Linked DNA regions of Homo sapiens: region 2 is linked to region 1. Evidence: promoter capture Hi-C in human tissues and cell types (Jung and others, 2019). All regions are on one chromosome and are shown on one strand. Each heading gives the region's core, a stretch centred on a gene start or on the middle of the fragment in contact. The rest is flanking DNA. Distances are from core to core; before and after follow the strand shown.

Evidence for each region. Contacts are between HindIII fragments. The study calls those that stand out against the background at their distance.
Region 2: a fragment that was not itself captured here is called in contact with the fragment with the promoter of SRSF9 in region 1 in 1 of the 25 tissues and cell types used here (dorsolateral prefrontal cortex).

The regions. Positions count from the first base shown.
Region 1 is chr12:120,465,529-120,472,984 of GRCh38, reverse strand. SRSF9 (serine and arginine rich splicing factor 9) reads left to right here and starts at 3,237. Exons shown (of 4, transcript NM_003769.3): 1 at 3,237-3,563; 2 at 7,198-7,358. The coding sequence starts at 3,376. It also overlaps a transcript of DYNLL1 not described here. RefSeq lists silencers at 3,279-3,578, 3,829-3,998. The HindIII fragment of the contact is 11,710 bases long and covers 1,270-7,456 here.
Region 2 is chr12:120,293,008-120,300,463 of GRCh38, reverse strand. RNU4-1 (RNA, U4 small nuclear 1) reads left to right here and starts at 7,227; the gene lies at 7,227-7,371. It also overlaps a transcript of SIRT4 not described here. RefSeq lists a silencer at 7,237-7,346 and an enhancer at 6,583-7,456. The HindIII fragment of the contact is 8,404 bases long and covers 1-7,456 here.

The sequences.
Region 1 (7,456 bases), core at 1,988-4,487:
AAAGGTGTCCCTGCCTAGAGTCTCTGGCCTTAGCAGAGAATGGAACCTATGAACCCTTTGAACATGAAGTCATAATTGTGGTCTCATTTGTGTTCTAACTGCAAAGGTCAGTACAGGAATAAAGGGGGTTTCATGGATGATCATAAATGCCTCCTAAGGATTTAGCTGTGCTCTATCTAATCCAAGAAGCCTGTACTAACCACATCCCTACATTTTCTGCTGGGTAACTGAACTCCTTTGGAGATTGTATGCTGCAGGACATTGCACAATTAAAGCTGAATTATTATTATTTGCAAGCAGTTTTCCACCTACAGTCCTATTGAGTCACTTAGCTGACTCTATTTCTCTCTCCCTAGGAGACTGCCCAATTGTCTCCAACAGCACTTTTTTTTCCTTTTTTGTCTTTCCAGGCAACAATCACATAGGAGTGGTAGGACTCAGAGAATGGTATTAATACACCTAAGCACACCACCCAAAATGAGAAGGCATCTGGACTTTCGGATGCCTATAGGATATGTAAGCTCCTATAAGGCTGCACACTTAGACTCGAGATCATATTTGGCCAGGGCTCTTTCCTGCTTGTCTAGAGAACAGCTAGATGCTTTACATAATCCAGAATACAACAGATAGTTATAATGGTTTTATTTTAGGAATCATTTATTATGTTTTATTCCAATTATAAAAGTAGTGCATGCTAATTACAATTTGAGAAATACAGAAAAGCATAAATAAAAACATAGAAATCACTGCCATCAAGAGATATCTCCACAACCACAACATTTGGAAAGCTTTTTCTATTTTTTTTTTGTTACAAGCAGCAAATACACTATATATGTGTATACATTAAACACCACTTTCAATTCACTTTAACTGTAAATTACTGTGACTTTAATATCTCTGTCATATTAAAAACATGACTTAATAATTGTGTAACATTCAAAGTTAATGTGTTGAGCCACTCCCTTATTATCAAGTTTAATTTTTTTAATTGCACAGAATGCAATGATAAATATACACATGTAATTTATTATGAGAATCTCTTGCTTATTTCCGTCTGATAAAAATCCTACAAGCAGCTGGGCGCGGTGGCTCACGCCTGTATTCCCAGCACTTTGGGAGGCTGAGGCAGGCGGATCACGAGGTCAGGAGATTGAGATCATCCTGGCTAACACGGTGAAACCCTGTCTCTACTAAAAATATAAAAAAATCAGCCGGGCGTGGTGGCAGGCACCTGTAGTCCCAGCTACTCAGGAGGCTGAGGCGGGAGAATGGCATGAACCTGGGAGGCGGAGCTTGCAGTGAGCCGAGATCACGCCACTGCACTGCAGCCTGGGTGACAGTGTAAGACTCCGTCTCAAAACAAACAAACAAAAAATCCTACAAGCAGAATTACAAGATCGAAGGGTATATGTATATTATGAAAGCCTGATGTATACTATCAACTTGTATTCCAAAAAAGATATACACTCAGTAGTATATGTGGGTGTCTAGTCTTTGGTTTGTTTTGATTTTAAAATGCTCAGATGGTATAATGAGAAATCAACTACCTTCTGATTAAATGTGTGGTTTTAGTCCCTTTTTTTGTTTGTTTTTGTTTTGTCTTGTTTTTGAGACAGAGTCTCCCTCTGTCACCCAGGCTGGAGGAGTGCAGTGGCACAATCTCGGCTCACTGCAACCTCTGCCTCCCAGATTCAAGCGATTCTCGTGCCTCATCCTCCCAAGCAGCTGGGACTACAGGCGTGCCACCAAGCTTGGCTAATTTTTTTTTTTTTTTGTATTTTTAGTAGGGGGGCGGGTCTTGCCATGTTGGCCAGGCTGGTCTTGAACTCCTGGCCTCAAGTGATCCACCCACCTCAGCCTCCTAAAGTGCTGGGATTACAGGCATGAGCCACCACGCCCAGCCAGGTTTCATTTTTAATATGAAAAATCTTTATTTATTTTTGAGACAGTCTCACTCTGTCACCCAGGCTGAAGTGCAGTGGCATGATCTCGGCTCACTGCAACCTTCGCCTCCCGGGCTCAAGCAATTCTCCTGCCTCAGCCTCCCGCGTAACTGGGATTATAGGAACACGCCACCACGCCCAGCTAATTTTTGTATTTTTAGTAGAAACGGGGTTTCCCCATGTTGCCCAGGCTAGTCTCGAACTACTGACCTCAAGTGATCCTCCCGCCTTGGCCTCTCAAAGTGTTGGGATTACAGGCGTGAGCCACCGCACCCAGCCTGAACAATCTTTAGGTTAGGAGTATTCCAGCCGGGCGCCGGGCTCAAGCCGGTAATCCAACACTTTGGGAGGCCAAGGCTGGAGGATCGGTTGAGCCCAGGAGTTCGAGACCAGCCTCTCTACAAAAAAAATAGAAAATAAACTAGCTGGACGCAGCGCAGACCCCTCACGGCGCCCCGAGGTGGGAGGATCACCTGAGTCCAGCGAGATCGAGACTGCAGTGAGCCGTGTTCGCGCCATTGCACTCCAGCCTGAGCAACAGAATAAGACCCTGTATCAAAAACAAACAAAAAGTCTTCTGGTGCAAGGCCTCACTGTAAGGTCCCTGGGTTCAATGCTCCGCGTTCTGGGATGTGAATGTGGAAAAGTAAGTGCCAAGGTGGGTGTCTACCTGAGCTCCATAAGGACTCAGTACTTAGGATGGGAGCATGGCTCTGGGTTCCATTCCTGACCCCTCTGTGGCCTCAGACTCTGCCCGGGAGAGGATGAAAAGCACAAGTCGGATGCACTCTATAGTGATCGCTGTGATACTCATTAAGAGTCTTACTCCCTCGACTCCGACAAACTCAAGGCCAAGCTATGGAGTCCATCTCATGCTGACACCGTCAGTTCTGAGCAACTGTAAAATGGGGACAGGGTGGCCCGGGGGCCTACTGACCTGAGGTGGGGGCCGCGACAGCCCGGCCGCTGCGGGGTCAGCCTGCGGTCTCCGCCTGACTCCAGCTCTCCTGCGCCCCGCAGGCCCTGGGCGCTACCCACGTCAGTGAGTGCTCACAAGTCTGTGAGGTAGGCGGCGCCACAGAGAGAAACTGAGGCGCGGGAGCCCAAGCCACTTGTCCAGCGCCTCAGCCGAGCGCGAACCGCGCTCGGGGATGGCATCCACACGGCCCGGCCCCAGGCTCTCCCTGTCAGCGCCCGAAGGCCCTTCGCACCTCCAGGGGGCGCCGGCCTGCGCGCACGCGCAATGGTCGCAGCCGCGTTCTCTTTAAGAGGACTCCTTTTGCCTCCGCCGACCCCTTCGCTTCCGCTCCGCGTTCCCACAATGCAGTGCGGCTGAGCGCCTCGGAGCCCGCGGGGACGCTGCGGGGGGACCCGTGCTGAGGCGGCGGCGGCGACGTGGGCTGCGGCGGGCCCGCGGCGTCGGGCGGTGCGGATGTCGGGCTGGGCGGACGAGCGCGGCGGCGAGGGCGACGGGCGCATCTACGTGGGGAACCTTCCGACCGACGTGCGCGAGAAGGACTTGGAGGACCTGTTCTACAAGTACGGCCGCATCCGCGAGATCGAGCTCAAGAACCGGCACGGCCTCGTGCCCTTCGCCTTCGTGCGCTTCGAGGACCCCCGGTGAGGCCCCCGCGCCCCTGCCCTCTCCTCCTCGGTGCCTGAGGCCCCCGCCTTCCCTGCTGTCCCCTCCCCCAGGGCTCCCCTCCCCCCGGCCTCCCCTCCCCCCGCCTCCGCGCAGACCCCTCACGGCGCCCCCTCACGGGTGGAGGATGAGGCAGCCTCTCCTCGCAGGCCCGGGCCGTCCTTCGCGCCGTCGTCACTTCCTTTATTTTTATTATTCCAATATTTTACTTAGAAACCCAAAAGCTGAGCCTTTGGAGGGCCCAAGCCCGCCTGCACCGGCCTCGGGGGGTCCAAATGAGCCTTGTCCGCCTCCTGCCTGGGGCAGCACCGTAGGGGGAAGCGGCCGCGGGGCAGCGCGGGGGTCGCCGTTCGCCCTTCCCGCTCGCCTCTCCCCCGGCCCGTGCTCGCCGTGGCTGGAGAGCAAGCTGCAGGGTCGCGGATGCCGCTGGAGGTCGTGGAGGGATCTCTGGTGGAATAGCTCGCCGTTCGCGCGCCCCGCCCCGCAGGCCAGGGCCCGGGCTTTGTAAAGGGATCACGGATTCGGGAAAACTTCTAAAACAGCCGGAGTGGGGCTCTGATTTCACTTCCCTCCTTTGATGAGGGAGGCTTGGCGAGATGCTAAAGGTTCCAGGGATTTGGAAACTCTAGATTCCTAACCCCGCTCTAAGGAGTGCTTGTGATTTTGCAAACAGCGTCGGCCCTCAGGCCGGAAAAAGCCCAGGAACTTTCAAAACTGTGGTTGGTGGTGGTTAGCAGCTGCGGCGCTGACCTGGTCACTCCACTCCGGCCAAATAAGAGCCCGCACCCTGTTTTCCTAGCATCATTTGCTCCCGGGGAACGCGGAATGTTCGTAGGGTGTCCGACCTACCTGGGGTGGACGTATTGATAGGGCAAGGGGAGCATCTGAGGAAGGGCAGGCAGGAAGCACCGCGAGGCGTTGATGGCTGAAGAGTCGACTCTGACAGCTCATCCCTAGTATCTCCTCATTTGCCTCAAAACCGGAACTGGGCATTTTTACCCCTAAGCCGGAGAAGGCTATGCCTCGCTTATTTAGTAACCGTGCCATTGTGGTTTTTCAACAGTTGCTATGGGTCAAGTGCCATGGTGTGTATTTAGCTTTTTTTCTTTCCTTCTTATTTTTTTAGATTGATAAATTAGGGGTTTCACCATGTTGCTCAGGCTGGTCTGGAACTCCTGAGCTCAGGTGATTCTCCCGTCTCAGCGGATCAAATTGTTAGGATTACAGGCGTGAGCAACCCGCCCAGCCTGTATTTAGTATTTTTAACAATTTATGAGGTGTAGGTACTATTTTTTTTTTTTTTTTGAGACAGGTCTTCACTCTTGTTGCCCAGGCTGGAGTGCTGTGGTGCGATCCCGGCCCACCGCAACCTCCGCCACCTGAGTTCAAGCGATTCTCCCGCTTCAGCTTCCCAGTAGCTGGGATTACAGGCGCCCGCCATCATGCCTGGCTGATTTTTCTATGTTCAGCAGATACGGGGTTTCTCCATGTTGGCCAGGTTTGTCTTGAACTCCTAACCTCAAGTGATCCACCCACCTCAGCCTCCCAAAATGCTGAGGTTACAGGCCTGAGCCACCACGCCAGGCCGGGATCAATGGATTTGAACTCCCTCTTCTGTTTTTCGAATGCAAACTTACTATATGATACGCTACATTGTCATCTTCCCTCATTCCTTTCATAATAGAAAAACTATCTTTTGGTGTCACTAGATGTGAAGATTCAAGCAAAGCATTTCATGTAGTATCTTATTTAACCATTACAATAACCCTGTGAGATAGGCATACTGTTCACATTAGAGATGTAAAAACTTGATTAAACACTTACCCAGAGATGACTACTAGTAATTTGCAGAATAGTGATTTGAATGCAGGCTAATTTTATTTATTTATTGTATTTATTGAGATGGAGTCTGGCTCTGTCGTGCAGGCTGGAGTGTAGCGGCACAGTCTCAGCTCACTGCAACCTTCGCCTCCTGGGTTCAAGAGATTCTCGTGCCTCAGCCTCCTGAGTAGCTGGGATTACAGCTGCGCGATGCCATGCCCAGCTAATTTTTATCTTTTTAGTAGAGACGAGGGGTTTCACCAGGTTGCCCAGACTGGTCTCAAGCTGCTAACCTCAAGTGATCCACCTCCCAAAGTGCTGGGATTACAGGCATGTGCCACAGCGCCTGGCCTGAATGCTGGCCAGTTTTTATTCAGAGTTGTTCTGACCTCCTAGCAGTTCTGCCTCTCCCAGTCTGCATTTTACGTAGTCAAGGTTGCACTGGATATGGTCATTGTTGCTTTTAGTTCTAAAATCTTACAAGTGATTATGTGCCTGTGACACTGAACAATGCCTTCATTAGCACATTCAGCTCCTCTTGTCCACCCAAGCTCCAAGGTCACACTTTCTACCATCCAATACTGGAGAATCAACGTGGCATTCCTGACTCTCCTAGAGTCCTAGGAAAGACTTAAAGTAATTTTATTGAATATTTATCTCTTTTGGCAAAATTGTATCCAAAGAATGTTTTTTGACAAAAATAGTTCTCCAAACCATGCTGAAAAGGTACACTTAGAGTTCCAAGGCCAGGCGCAGTGGCTTATGCCTGTAATCCTAGCACTTTGGGAGACTGAGGGGAAGGATCGCCTGAGCCCAGGAGTTCAAGACCAGGCTGGCCAGCAGAGGGAGACCTGTCTCTACAAAAAATCCAAAAATTAGCTGGGTGCAGTGGTACACGCCTGTGGCCCTAGCTATTCAGGAGGCTGAGGTGGGAGGATTGCTTGCGCCCAAGAGTTAGAAGCTGCTGTGAGTTATGCTCCAGCCACTGCACTCAGCCTTGGTGACAGAGCAAGACCCCGTTTCAAAAAAAAAAAAAGTTCCACATTCATCACAAAACACTCATTTGCATTTTTCTTTTGTCCTTTGAGCCTTATTTATTTATTTTTTTAAAAGACCGGGTCTCACTATATTACCCAGGCTGGCCTGACCTGGGCTCAAACATCATGCCCAGCTACTTTATTTACCCTCAAATACTCTCCTATCTAACTGGCTACTTTTTTTTTCCTGTTTTTTGGGACAGGGTCTCTGTCACCCAGGCTGGAGTACAGTAGTGTGATCTTGGCTCTGCACTCCCATCTCAGCCTCTCAAGTAGCTGGGACTACAGGCGTGCAACACCATGCCTGGCTAACCGCCTACTTTTTATTTCCATAGACTTTATGGCACTAGGCTTTGTAGAAAAATATTAAGGGGTTAGTGTGTGGTGTGCTTTTCGAGAAAATGCTCACGAAGATTAGAAAAACACTGATGGTTTATTGGCAAAATCAATAATCTGTCAGCAGTTGATTCTTTTTTTTCTCTGAATTAGCCCTCTTATGAGTAATCTGTTTGCTCATTCATTATAATTTCATACCTCTAAAACTGCGTGTGACAGCTGTAAAGGTTAATTCCAGTATCATGAAACGTCTCCAAACCAAAGCAGAAGTGCTTCAGGATCCTGATTTGTGTGTTTTTTTCTTCACTCTAGGTTTCCCTTTTATGCTTACTACTCATGCCCCTCACTTGGAAAGTCACTTGGCCTCCTGAACAGCACTAACTCCAAACGTTTTTTTTGTTGTTGTTGTTTTTTTTAGAGATGCAGAGGATGCTATTTATGGAAGAAATGGTTATGATTATGGCCAGTGTCGGCTTCGTGTGGAGTTCCCCAGGACTTATGGAGGTCGGGGTGGGTGGCCCCGTGGTGGGAGGAATGGGCCTCCTACAAGAAGATCTGATTTCCGAGTTCTTGTTTCAGGTATGTTCCTTTCAAACAGAATGAGATGATACATGTAAAATACTTAACACAGAGTCTGTCTTCCAAGAAATGATAGCTGTTATTCTTCAGTGCATGGG
Region 2 (7,456 bases), core at 2,130-4,629, 170 kb after region 1:
TTCAAAAAATAATAATAATAAATAAAGATGAACTGAAGTGCAGAGAAGTAATGTGGAAGCTTGAGAAAGAGTTTTTAGGTTTTTGGTTCTATCATTGTATCTTTGGAGGTAATATTGGCAAAATGACCATTTAGTAGTTTGCCCATTTCTGCTTTTTTTTTTTCTTTTTTTTGAGACAGGGTCTCGTTCTGTCACCCAGGCTGGAGTGCAGTTGTGACATCACAGCTCACTGCAGTTTCTACTTCCCAGGCCCAAGGGATCCTCCAACCTCATCCTCTCGAGTAGCTGAGATCACAGGCATCCACCACCACGCCCAGCTAAATTTTGTTATTTTTTATTTTTGTCGAGACACGGTCTCACTATGTTGCTCAGGCTGGTCTCAAACTCCTGAACTCAAGGAAAGCTCTTGCTTTGGCCTCCCAAAGTGCTGGGATTACAGGTGTGAGCCACCATGCCGGGCCTGCTTATTTCGACTTGGCAGCATCGTTTCATGAAGCCCCTGACTCTGTGACAACATACAGCTCTCCAGAAAGATGCTTTGAAGACAAAACAGAATAGAGCACACAGCCCTCCATGTCTCTTCCAAGTCACTATATTCATTAAAAGATAAATGACTCTGGTCATTGCCTTTTCCTGCACAAGATAATGTCTGATGGGGTTAGTGATGATACCTCTGTAATCCATAACCAGATATACTCTTGCACCCAAACTTTGATATGATTGTGCTTTAATGTAACTTTGAAGCAAGTTTAATGTGATTTTGCAGGCGCCGTACACTCACCACTTGTATATGAGTGGCTGAAATTCTGTGTTGGACCAGTCTGATGGAACTGCTCCCACACTATAGCCCTCGGTCTGTAATCCTCAGTAAGACTTGTAAGTAAAACTAACTTTAATTTTTTTTTTTTTTTTTTGAGAGAGTCTAGCTCTGTTGCCCAGGCTGGAGTGCAGTGGCGCGATCTTCACTCACTGAAGCCTCTGCCTTCCCGGCTGAAGTGATTCTGCTGCCTCGGCCTCCGGAGTAGCTAGGATTACAGGCGCTCGCCACTGCGCCCGGCTAATTTTTGTATTTTTAGTAGAGATGGGGTTTCGTCATGTTGGCCAGGCTGGTTTTGAACTCGTGACCTCAGGTGACCCACCTGCCTCAGTCTCCTAAAATGCTAGGATTACAGGAGTGAGCCACTGCACCCCGCCACTTTTATTATTATTATTATTGTATTTATTTATTTATTTATTTATTTTTGAGACGGAGTCTCGCTCTGTCGCCCAGGCTGGAGTGTAGTGGAGAGATCTCGGCCCACTACAAGCTCCGCCTCCCGGGTTCACGCGATTCTCCTGCCTCAGCCTCCGGACTACAGGCGCCCGCCACCACACCCGGCTAATTTTTTGTATTTTTTTTTTAGTAGAGACGGGGTTTCACCGTGTTAGCCAGGATGGTCTCTATCTCTTGACCTCGTGATCCGCCCGCCTCAGCCTCCCAAAGTACTGGGATTACAGGCGTGAGCCACCGCGCCCGGCTATTTATTTATTTATTTATTTATTTATTTATTTATTTTTTGAGACGGAATATTGCTCTGTGCCCAGGCTGGAGTGCAGTGGCACGATCTCAGATCACTGCAACCTCCGCCTCCCGGGTTCAAGTGATTCTCCTGCCTCAGCCTCCCGAGTAGCTGGGATTACGGGTGCCCGCCACCATGCCCGGCTAATTTTTGTATTTTTAGTAGAGACGGGGTTTCACCATGCTTGTCAGCATGGTCTCGAACTCCTGACCTCGCGATCCGCCCGCCTCAGCCTCCCAAAGTGCTGGAATTACAGGCATGAGCCACTGCGCCCTGCCACTTTAATTATTTAAAAGCTTATTTTTTTATTTTGGGGACATGGTCTCACTCTTTCACCCAGGCGGGAGTTCAGAGGCACGATCACTGCGCACTACAGCCTCAACCTCTTGGACTCAAACCATCCTCCCACCTCAGCCTCCTGAGTAGCTGGGACTACAGGTGGGCCACCAAGCCCAGCTAATTTTTGTATTTTTTTGTAGAGACGGGGTTTCACCATGTTGCCCAGGCTGGTCTCGAACTCCTGGGCTCTAGGCTTTCCAAAGTGTTGTGATTACGGGCGTGAGCTACTGCGCCTGGCCGATTCTTTTTAACTTAGTACACAGGGAGTAGTAGCTCCAGCAACAGCGAAAGTCAGTAGCTGTAGGATCTACTAGGCGGGGAAACTCATATGACAGCCCCCTCCTTTTTTTTTTTTTTTTTTTTTTTTTTGAGATGGAGTTTCACTCTTGTTGACCAGGCTGGAGTGCAATGGCGCCATCTTGGCTCACCGCAACCTCCGCCTCCCGGGTTCAAGTGATTCTCCTGCCTCAGCCTCCCCAGTATCTGGGATTACAGGTGTGAGCCACTGCGCCCGGCCACCCCCTTTTTTTTTCAAGGCTGCAGTGAGCCATGATCCTGTGACTGCACTCCAGCCACTGACAGCCCTTTCTGCATTAGTTAACCTGACCACATCTGCTGAAAGAAAGCACCAGAAGCTAGACTGAAATTTTCGTTGTCAAAAAAATTATAATCCCCCCCAAAATTTAAAAATTATAATCCAGCACATTTTCTGCACACATTTTCTGGGTATTTGATCATAACTTTTAAAAATGTGAGAACAGTGACATTCTCCTTCCCCATTCACCAATTTTACTATGAAAAAGTTCAAACCTAGGTTATTTTTTCAGTTCTCCAAGTGGAATGATCATCACTAATAGAGATTGGTTGGGAATTCTATTGTGCTTCTAGGCCCCCAAAAATCTCATGCTCTGAGGAAAAGTTAGCTGAGTTTTCAATTTTTCTCATAGTGCTGGAAAATCATCCCTGGACGGTGAAGTCATCCAAGTCTTTTTTGTTTTGTTTTGTTTTTTCTTTCTTTCTTTCTTTCTTTTTTAATTTTTGTATGCTTTGTTTCTATTTCTTTTTTTTTTTGTCATCCAAGTCAGCTGGTGAAACACACAATTTCACTTGATAGCTACTGAGAGAGTGTAATGGGCCACCCATTCTAGAATTCTCAAGGGCTAGGAAGTTCCTTTGATACCCTCATGGGATTAGGATTAGGGCTTTAGTCTTTTTCTCTCTCTCTTTTTTTTTTTTTTTTTTTTTTTTTGATTACAGGCGTGAGCCACCACACCAAGCCCCATTATTTATTTATTTTATTTTATGTATGTATGTATGTATGTATGTATGTATTTATTTATTTTGAGACGGAGTCTCGCTCTATCGCCCAGGCTGGAGTGCAGTGGCGCAATCTAGGCTCACTGCAACCTCCGCCTACCGGGTTCAAGTGATTCTCCTATGTCAGCCTCCCAAGTAGCTGGGATTATAGGCGCCCGCCACCATGCCCAGCTAATTTTTGTATTTTTAGTAGAGACGAGGTTTCACCATCTTGGCCAGGCTGGTCTTGAACTCCTGACCTTGTGATCCACCCGCCTCGGCCTCCCAAAGTGCTGGGATTACAGGCGTGAGCCACCGTGCCTGGCCTAGTGTTTTTCTCACAACTCCACCCCATCCAGAATTAATGACTAAATCCTTGACTGGATGATCAAAGTAAAAGAATCTAAATTCACCACATTGCTAGTCTTTTCTTTTTATCCAGGCTGTGAATTAAATAAGAAATCTGCTGCAGTGGCTCATGCCTGTAATCCCTCCCCTTGGGGAGGCCGAGGCGGGCGGATCACTTGAGCCCAGGAGCTGGAGACCAGCATGGGCAACATGGTGAAACCCTGTATCTACAAAAAATACAGAAAAATTAGCTGGGCATGGTGGTGTGTGCCTGTAGTCCCAGCTACCTGGGAGGCTGAGGTGGGAAGATCGCTTGAGCCCAGGAGATTTAGGCTGCACTGAGCCGTGATTGCACCCCTGCGCTCCAACCTAAGCGACTGAGAACATGTCTCAAAAAAAAAAAAACAAAAAAAAAAACACAAAACAAGTTAGAAATAATCACATAACACATCAGCATCAAACAGGCCTTTTAAAATGTCGTTTTTGACCATCCTGGCTAACACGGTGAAACCCCATCTCTACTAAAAATAGAAAAAATTAGCCGGCCGTGGTGGCGGGCGCCTGTAGTCCCAGCTACTCGGGAGGCTGAGGCAGGAGAATGGCGTGAACCCGGAAGGCGGAGCTCGCAGTGAGCCGAGATTGCGCCACTGCACTCCAGCCTGGGCGACAGAGCGAGACTCCGTCTCAAAAAAAAAAAATGTCATTTTTGTATATGGATGATGAGTACATGAATGTTCACTGAGGAATTCTTTGAACTTTTCGTGTTTACAATTTTTTATGATAAAATGTTGGGGGAAATGTTACTTTCTTTTTTTTTTTTTTTTTTTTTTTTTTTGAGACGGAGTCTCGCTTTGTCACCCAGGCTGGATTACAGTGGCATGATCTCAGCTCATGGCAACCTCTACCTCCCAGGTTCAAGCGATCCTCCTGCCTCAGCCCCCCTAGTAGCTGGGATTACAGGCAAGCGCCACCACGCCCCGTTAATTTTTGTATTTTGTATTTTTGTAATTTTGTATTTTTGTATTTTGTATTTACAGGGATGTCGCCATGTTACCAGGCTGATCTTGAACTCCTGACCTCAGGTGATCCACCTGCCTTGGCCTCCCAAAGCGTTGGGATTACACGCTCGAGCCACCACACCTAGACCAGATGTAGGTTTCTAATAGCTTTCTACATCCTGAAGGAAAACAGGCAGTGAGGGTGAAAGTTGCTTCAAATTTTAGAAACTGTGAACATTCTGTGGAAATAAATCCTTATTATTTGAGCCTCTTTTTGAATTAAGGTGTCCAAACCCTTTTGAATTAACATATGATCCAGCAATTTTACTTCTAGGTATGTACACCAAAGAATAGAAAACAGGGGCCAGGCGCGGTGGCTCACACCTGTAATCCCAGCACTTTGGGAGGCCGAGGCAGGCAGATCACTTGAGGTCAGGAGTTCAAGACCAGCCTGACCAACATGGAGAAACCCCGTCTCTACTAAAAAAAAAAAAAAAAAAAAAATTATCTATATATATATTTATACATATATATATATAAAATTAGCCAGGCATGGTGGCGCATACCTGTCATCCCAGCTACTTGGGAGGCTGAGGCAGGAGAATCACCTGAACCCAGGAGGCAGAGGTTGTGGTGAGCTGAGATTGCGCCTTTGCAGTCCAGACTGCGCAACAAGAGCGAAACTCAGTCTCAAAAAAAAAAAAAAGGAAAACAGAAACTTAAGCTGATATTTGCACACCAATAGCAGCATTATTCCCATAGACAAAAGGTGGAAACCAGCAATGACCATCTAAAAATAAATGGATAGGCCGGGCGCCGTGGCTCAGCACTTTGGGAGGCTGAGGCAGGAGGATCACTTGAGGTCAGGAGCTTGAGACCAGCCTGGCCAACATGGTGAAACCCTGTCTCTACTAAAAATACAAAAATTAGCCAGGATTGGTGGCACGCACCTGTAATCCCAGTTAGTTACTCGGGAGGCTGAGACAGGAGAACTGCTTGAACCCCAGAGGCGGAGGTTGCATGGGCTGAGATTGAGTCTATGTACTCCAGCTTGGGCAACAGAGCGAGACTCCCCCTCAAAAAAAAAAAAAAAAAGGATAAACAGTTGGTCCGGGCGGCAGCTCATGCCTATAGTCCCAGCACTTTGGGAGGCCAAGATGGGAGGATCACTTGGGCCCAGGAGTTCGAGACCAGCCTGGGCAACATGGTGAGATCCTGTCTGTACGAAAAATACAGAAAGTATCCAGCTGAAGTGGGAGGAGGATCACTTGAGGCCTGGAAGCAGAGGTTGAAGTGAGCTGAGATCGCGCCACTGCATTCCAGCCTGGGCGACAGAGCCAAAAGCTGTCTCAAAAAAGAATGAATGGGACCGGGCGCGGTGGCTCACGGCTGTAATCCCAGCACTTTGGGAAACCAAGGCGGGTGGATCACCTGAGGCCAGGAGTTCAAGACCAGCCTGACCAACATGGTGAAACCCCGTGTCTACTAAAAATAATCCCAGCTCCTCGGGAGGCTGAGGCAGGAGAATCGCTTGAACCTGGGAGGCGGAGGTTGATCTCGCCATTGCGCTCCAGCCTGGGCAACAAAAGCAAAACTTCGTCTCAAAAAAAAAAATAGACAAGAATAAATGGGCTGGGTGAAGTGGCTCACACCTGTAATTCCAGCACTTTGGGAGGCCGAGGCAGGCAGATCACGTGAGGTCAGGAGTTTGAGACCAGCCTGGCCAACATGGTGAAATCCTGTCTCTACTAAAAATACAAAGAGTGGTGGCATGCATCTGTAATCCCAGCTACTTGAGAGATGGAGGCAGGAGAATCGCTTGAATCCGGGAGGCAGTGGTTGCAATGAGCCGAGATCATGCCACTGCACTCCAGCCTGGGCAACAAGAGCAAAAACTCCATCTCAAAAAAAAAAAAAGATAACATCTCATACAGTGAAATATTATTCAGCCATAAAATTAATGAATTCCTGATATATACTACAACATGGATGAACCTTAAAAACATTATTCTGAATGAAATAAGACTGACCTCAAGGACAAATATTGTATGATTCCATTTATATATATATAAAGTACTCACAAAGTCATAGAGATAGAAAGTAGAAAAGAGGTTGCCACGGGGGCTGGAGGAGAAGGGAACAGGGAGTAAGGGTTTAATGGGTACAGAGTCTCAGTTTCCACCCTTGGGCATGAAAGATAAAGTTCTGGAGGTAAGTAGTGATGATGGTTACACAACAATGTGAACATATTCTATGCCAGTGAATTTACACTTAAGGTTAAAATGGTAAATTTTATGTATACTTTGGCATAATTTAAAAAAAAGTTTGAAAAAGAAAAAAGACAAAACAATAATCGTCTTTGGAGAAGTCTGTTACACTGAATCTGGAGCCAAGTGAACAGAACCCTGATTTTGATCCCTTTTCTCTCAAAAGCCCTTCGCAGTCTCTGAATTAAGTCTATTAGCATGTTCCTCCCATAGTGCTTTGCTTCATATCAACAAAAACCTAGCTAAGTGAAATCAGCAACGATATGCAGAAACCACCTACGCAGGTCACAAACATCTTTCTATGATTGTATAATTTTCAAGCAAGCAATAAGTGAAGATTTTTCCATAGGCCCTAAACTCACCTTTGCGAAATAGGAAGCTGGTTTATTGGGAGTGATGAGCAGGGGGCGTAACAAATTAGCTTTGCGCAGTGGCAGTATCGTAGCCAATGAGGTCTATCCGAGGCGCGATTATTGCTAATTGAAAACTTTTCCCAATACCCCGCCGTGACGACTTGCAATATAGTCGGCACTGGCAATTTTTGACAGTCTCTACGGAGACTGAATTTTCTTGCAGTTGAACAACAGAGGCTTTTTTTGTGTGTGTGGGGGTGCTTGGTTTTGGGAGGTTGAAGAGTACTTGTTCGCAA